2 separate regions of the Homo sapiens genome follow, and region 2 is linked to region 1. The links are contacts of gene promoters, found by promoter capture Hi-C in blood cells and fetal thymus (Javierre and others, 2016). All regions are on one chromosome and are shown on one strand. Each heading gives the region's core, a stretch centred on a gene start or on the middle of the fragment in contact. The rest is flanking DNA. Distances are from core to core; before and after follow the strand shown.

Region 1 (3,270 bases), core at 181-2,680:
ACCTTCCAAAGGGGCGGAATCCCCCTGCCTCGCGTACCCCAGGGGTCTCGGCAGCGCCGCTATTCTGTGAGCCTATTCCTCTCAGAAGCGCCGAGCACTAGGCCTGGAAGAGGACAAGTCTAGCAAATGAGGGGACACGGGCGGAGGGAGGGATTAAAAGATGGGGGTGTGATCCGTGCCAATGGGGACACCCACTGGTTCGAATATTAACGCGAGGTTTGTCCGCTTCTTCACAATCTGTCCGTTTCGTTTTACTGCGAAAGCAAATGTGTTCCCATCCCTCTATTTGGGGATACGATTAGAGTTCCGGGAAGGGGGTGCAGCGCCCGGACTGGCACAACCGCCGTTGTCCCACCTCCTCCGGGGCGGCAACACCGCAGTGCCAGGCCTGGGACTGAGGCGTGGGGTCCCCCCTCGCTCCGTCCTGGCGCCGCCCGTCGCCCCGCCCCTTGGGGGGCCCCGTGGCGCACCCTTGTGACGTAGCGCTTGTGTCGACATCGGCGCGCGCCGAGCCCGGAAGAGGCGCGGGCTAGGAAAGGAGTTGGTTCGCGCAGGTGCGGCGCCTGGGTCCCCATGGCGCTGTGGCGCGGCTCCGCGTACGCGGGCTTCCTGGCGCTGGCCGTGGGCTGCGTCTTCCTGCTGGAGCCAGAGCTGCCAGGCTCGGCGCTGCGCTCTCTCTGGAGCTCGCTGTGTCTGGGGCCCGCGCCTGCGCCCCCGGGACCCGTCTCCCCCGAGGGCCGGTTGGCGGCAGCCTGGGACGCGCTTATCGTGCGGCCAGTCCGGCGCTGGCGCCGCGTGGCAGTGGGGTGAGTGCCAACGGGGCCTGGGTCTCTGAGCCTCCGAGGTCGGCCTTGGAGGTCGGGCGGAGCCGCGCAGAAACAGGGCTTCTCAGAGGTCCCCGGGAGGCGCTGCTGTCCGCGCTGGCCCCTTGGCGAGAAGTGTCGGACGTCTGAGTGGAACCCGGTTCGTCACCGCTGCTCTTTCCACTCGGCTGGCCTCTGCGCCTTTCTCTCATCCCGGTAGGACCAGCCCTAACAGCTTCTTGCTAATCCCGCTTTGTCTGACACCTTTCTCCGAGCCTTCTTCCTCGTTCCAACTTTTAGCCCCTTCTCTTCTGGCGACTGTTGTTTTGCAATCAAAGATACTTGACCTTACCCACTATGACAACACTCTTCCTCTTTCTTCTGAACTTCTTGAAGACGCGTGATGTCTGCCTTTACCCACTTTCGAAACGCCGTGTAGTCTAGAAACCACACGACTGTACTGCAACTCCTCTCAGATTTGCCTTTTTGAATCTTCATTATCTACTCTGCAGCCTTCCACGCATTGAACACGCCCTTCTCCGTGAAATTCTTTTCTTCCCCTGACTTCAGTGACACTGCATATTTAAGGTTCTTCCAAATGACACTACCTCCTTTCTTTGTACTTTTCCTTGGGAATGTAATTATTTTCTTTATAGTATTGATACTGTAAACACTAACTTTAGTCCCTGTCTCAGTTCGATTTGACTTTCTTGCCGTAATCTCAGAGTTATGTATAACCACCACATAAAAGCAGGCCCTCTACCATGTAGCTCACTACTTTCTGTGGAGTGTTGGGGCCGGGAGGGGTAAAGTAGAGCAAACTTGGCCTGAAGATTAAATGACATCATTCATGTAATCTCTCTAGCATAGTGCCTGCTTTAAAAAGCATTCGATATTAGCTATAATTTTGGGGTTTTTTTTTTTTTTTTTTTTTGGACACAGGGTCTCTCTCTCTGTCGCCTAGGCTGGAGTGCAGTGGTGCAATCACTGCTCACTGCAGCCTCGAACTCCCGAGCTCAAGAGATCCTTCTGCCTCAGCCTCTGGAGTAGCTGGGACGACAGGCAAGCACCACCACGCCCAGCCAATTTTTTATTTATTTTATTTTTTTTAGTAGAGTCGAGGTCTTGCTATATTGCCCAGGCTGGTCTCGAACTCCTGAGCTCAAGCCAGCCTCCCATCTTGGCCTCCCAAAGTGCTGGGATTAAATTGTCCTTCCTTGCTTTATGCGCGTTCATTCAGCAGATATTCACCAACTACATGGTTAGTGTCAGGTCTGTGCTAGGTTCTTAAGATACAGAGATGGGTGAAGCAAGGCCCCTGTCTCACTTGTTGGAAACATATTATTGTATCAGTCATTTGGGCTGCTAGAACAGAATACCACAAATTAGGTGGATTAAACAACAAATCTGTTTTCTCGTGGATCTGGAGGCTGATAGTCCAAGATCAAGGTGTTGGCAGGATTGGCTTCCGATGTGGCCTCTCTTCCTAGCTTGCAGCCAGCTGGCTTTTCAGTTAGTCTGCGCATGTACACTCCTGGTGCCTCTTATTCTTCTTATGTGGACACTAGGTCCTTTTGGAATAGGGCTCACCCGTATGACCTTATTTAACCTTAACTACTTCCTTAAAGGCCCTACGTCCAAATATAGTCACATTGGGAATTAGGGTTTCAGCATATGAATTGGTGGGGGGTGGACAATTCAATCCATAACAATTATGGTTAGAAGAGGAACAACCCACGAGGACCAGGCAGAAGCCTTAATGCCTTTTACGACCTTACCTTAGAAGCACATAGGAACTCTTCTACCAGAGTCACAGGTCCACCTGGTTTTAAGGGAGGGGACATAGAACAAACCTTGATGGGAGGAGCATCAGTGTCACATTGTGAAAAGAACATTTGGAATGGGGCATCTTATTGCCACCATCTTGGAAAATATATTTTACTACAGTGACTTTCATAGGACAGACACTAAATAAATGAGATTTCTTCAAGCCAAAGTGGGAACAGGTCCACCTAGGCAAGAGAACCAAATGTGAAAAAGTACATGGTTTGTTTGGGAACAGGTCGGCCTTGTTTTGGAGCGAGAATCCTATGGTAGAGGGTTGTAAAGAGATGATGCTGAGAACGAAGGGTTGGACCAGATTGTGAAGGGCCTTTTATGGGGAAGCCATAAAGGTTTGTAAGTAGTTAACTGATGACAAGTTCTTTGTTGAGAATTGGTGGGAATGTGAAGGGTGGATTTTGAGCAGTGGTTCTAAACTGTTTCACTGCTTCTCATCATTTATTACCCAAAGAGGATTTTTAGCCCAAAGATAGGGGGATATAGGAGGGATGAGGGGGAGCAGGTGTAGTACTTGTATCAGAATCTCATTTTGAGGTTGTAGTTTGACTTCTCTAGAGACACACTCGTATTCACACTCTCTGTCACACAGACACACTCAAAATGCCATTTAATGTGATTCATAAGG
Region 2 (3,584 bases), core at 754-3,253, 290 kb before region 1:
CCCTCTGTCCCTTTCCCGCCCCCACAAAAATCCCTGCTAGATAAAAGGCTGCTGGACGTTCTATTTAACTTTGGACTTCTAGAAGGCTGGAATTGTATATCATATTCACTTACTTCTTTGTATGGTCTAAAGCATAACTGGTCATGTCAGAGGAACTTAAATAGGTGCTATGAATCTAAGCCTCACTTTTTTCACCTATAAAAGCAGAAAAATAAATTAAATGATTCCTCCTATGACTCTGTAATTTTGAAATAGTCTTTAATTCAAAAACAAAATATTTCTGGAGACACATTATATGCCAGGCACTGTGTTACGTCCTAAGGATATAGAGATAAAAGTATGGCCACTACCTAGAGGAACATGTTCTCATGATCATAATTTGAATTTCTCCATCTGGCTCCTGCACCCCAACCCTGGTTGTAGTCTACCCTGGTCATAGGGTGCCAGTATTTCATATGCTTGCAAAGCAAACAGTGTCAAGGAGAGGAAGGAGGCCAGGGACTCCTGGGGTAAGACTGACAGAAAGGGGAGAGTCATGCTGGAGAGGGATGTGAAAAGTGGGCACACAGAGAAGAGCTTCCCCCCTCCCATAAAGGGCCATGTGCCTATACTACTTCAAACATGAGAAAATAATTCTGTCTGGAATTGTTAATTGTGTCCATAATCTAAATAACATGAGGGTATCCTCACACATCGAAAACCCATTTTATTACACTGTATAATATTATATGAAGTCACTTCTAACAGCTCCGTATGAGTCACAGAAATAAAGCATAAGAAAAAGAAACATGCAAAGGAACACTTCATTTTAGCCATTAATTTATGTACATTCTCTGTTTTTCTTCTCCTTATCTTACTCATGAGTTTAAAACAACAAAACAGTCAGAGAGATTAGAAAGGAGTGAAAAACAAGGTGACTGCCTAATCTTGATAAATAAACTAGATAACTGGCCTCTGAATAACGAGAAATTGGTTATTAAGGCCTCCATTTTCAGACAGAACCCGTTTTTAGAAATGGATGTCTAAAACTGAATTACCCTGCAGAACAACTCTGATTGCATTTACAAGGTACCTGAACTATGCCTGAGCTGATACCTTTATCTGTTTAGACATGACTTGAGTCCTCAAATGAGTAAAATCTGCTGTGTAAATCAGGTACTTAATTAAAGAAAAAGCTTAGTAGGCTGCAGGGAGAGATTTGTTGAAATGGTGAATTAAACACTGTTATAGTAAGAGACCTCCTTCACTTATTAATTCTATCATTAGTCCACAAAATTCAAGTCAGACAAGAGTAGCTACTGTTTATGCATTTTTCATTTAAGATTCTAGAGTAGGGTAAATACTTACTGGGAATCTACAATCTCCAATGGGCTCACTGAGGCCTGGCAGATGAGGGGGAAAAGGCACTGAAAACAATACTATTCCCATATAATTTACAATCCTGTTAAATCTCCTAGTATGGTACATTCTCATATTAGTTCTGGTAATAGTAATCCTACCTCTCTGGTCAACCAATTCCTCAACACTCCTGAAAACCATTTCCTGCTTATCACGTACAGCAAAAGGCCTCACTGCCTCATTAACAATAATATTCACCTGTTCTTATGTTCCTTCCCTCTCGTTAAAGGAGAGTTCTCTCTCCTACAATGGGTCGAATGCAAATCTTTCTACTTGTGCTCAAAACCCCGTGTTCTCCCAACCTTCCCAGGAAACTTACACTGTCAGTTATCCCATTTTCCTTGCATACTTAAACTATCCCTCTCAAATAGAGCCTTCCATTTTTAAATACGCTCCAGAATCTCATCCATTAAACAGACACACACACACACCCAACTCATGAGACCTCAACCACTACATTCAGTCATCCCCATCATGGCTAAATTTCTGGAACTTTTCAGTCTTCATTTCCTCCCTTCCCACTTGTCCCTCAACCTGCTTCCAAATTCCATCTCCAGCTGTCAGTAAGGTCAACAGTGACTGACAGGTAAATGCAAAAGACTCTCCAATCATCAGCATACTTAATTCTGCCAGCAGAATCAGATACTCTCCTCCTTGGTTCCTGTGATACAACCTTCTCCTAGTTTTCCTCCTACTTCTCCGCTCACTTCTCTGTCTTATAATAACCCATCTTTCTCAATTCAACCACATTCTAAGCATATGACTCACAAATCTACAGCCCATGTCTTCCATCACACTCCAGACTGTAATGCTGCCCCTGGATATCACAAAGGTGTATCAAATTCATAATGTCCAAAATTAAACGCATGTTCTTCTTGTCCCCCAAACTTAGTTCTTTCTCCGTAAAAGACATCAGCACCCATCATCCTGCTATGCAAATCCTAAAGAACCTTAGGAATCATCTTTGACATGTCCCTCTCCCTCACCACCATATCCAATCCATCACCAAATTCTACTTTATCATCTAAATATCTTTCTATTCCATGTACTTCTCTACACTGCCATCATGCTAATCCAATTTACCTCTGTAAACTACCTAGGCTACTACAACGGGCCTAAGTATGAAACATGACCATCACCACCACAACCCCACCTCCATGCACGCAAGCACACACACACTTTTTCTTCATGTATTATGATGGTCACTTTATTTAATAACCTTTTAAATTCATTAAATTTAGGCAAAGCACAAATCGCTTGTTTACATGTATTCCTACCCTATCTCATTCCCACAAGTGTGAACTTTACCAGGACAGGATGTAAGTTTTAATCATCCTCATGGTCCCAACATAGAGCATGCAACATGTACTCAATAAAGGTTTACTGAATTTGTCTGAAATTCACCTTGTTTTGGAGAGTTAGAAAAAGCTTGTATACATGAGACTTTCAGATGACCTTTTCATTTATGTTCCTGCTTCCGTCCAACAGTTGAGTCAGTTAATAAAGCAAAATTAAAACTTTTAAAAATTATAACTTTGAATCTTCCAGATATTACATTAATGAAATACAATCCAAATTCTAATGACATTTCACAGTTAAAAAAAAAAAATTAAAAGCTGGCTGGGCACGGTGGCTCACACCTGTAATCCCAGCACTTTGGGAAGCCGAGGCAGGCAGATCACCTGAGGTCAGGAGTTCAAGACCAGCCTGTTCAAAATGGTGAAACCCTGTCTCTACTAAAAATACAAAAATTAGCTGAGTGTAGTGGCACATGCCTGTAATCCCAACTACTCAGGAGGCTGAGGCAGGAGAATCGCTTGAACCTGGGAGGCGGAGGTTGCAGTGGGCCAAGATCGGCCCATTGCACTTCAGCCTGGGTGACAAGAGTGAAACTCCATCTCAAAAAACAAACAAACAAACAAACAAACAAAATTAAATTAAAAGCCATCAGATATAGTATGATCATTTCTATGGAAAAACAACTAAAAGACTTTCAGAGAACGGCAATTGTTTTCAATATTCAGTTATAAAGACATTTCTTAAAACAAAAGTGGGCCAGGTGTGGTGGCTTACACCTGTAATCCCAGCAATCTGGGAAGCCACGGTGGGCCGATCATTTGAGCCTAGAAGTTTGAGCCCAGCCTGGGCAACATGGCAAAACCCTGTCTCTACAAATAAATACAAAA

Evidence for each region. The method cuts DNA at HindIII sites, captures the fragments that hold promoters and counts their contacts. A CHiCAGO score of 5 or more calls a contact.
Region 2: a contact is called between a fragment that was not itself captured here and the fragment with the promoter of ADPGK-AS1 in region 1, in 12 of 17 cell types (naive CD4 T cells, naive CD8 T cells, total CD8 T cells and 9 more). The highest score is 16.8, in naive CD4 T cells.

What each region holds. Positions count from the first base shown.
Region 1 is chr15:72,780,995-72,784,264 of GRCh38, reverse strand. ADPGK-AS1 (ADPGK antisense RNA 1) reads right to left here and starts at 1,430. Exons shown (of 3, transcript NR_040107.1): 1 at 1-1,430. It overlaps ADPGK (ADP dependent glucokinase), which reads left to right and starts at 507. Exons shown (of 7, transcript NM_001365225.1): 1 at 507-806. The coding sequence starts at 574. RefSeq lists enhancers at 1-191, 242-301, 1,062-1,131 and a silencer at 352-811. The HindIII fragment of the contact is 5,666 bases long and covers 1-3,270 here.
Region 2 is chr15:73,071,683-73,075,266 of GRCh38, reverse strand. All of the region lies in intron 1 of NEO1 (neogenin 1), which reads right to left. Among named protein-coding and RNA genes, the nearest start is that of NEO1, 21 kb to the right of the region's middle. The HindIII fragment of the contact is 1,651 bases long and covers 1,178-2,828 here.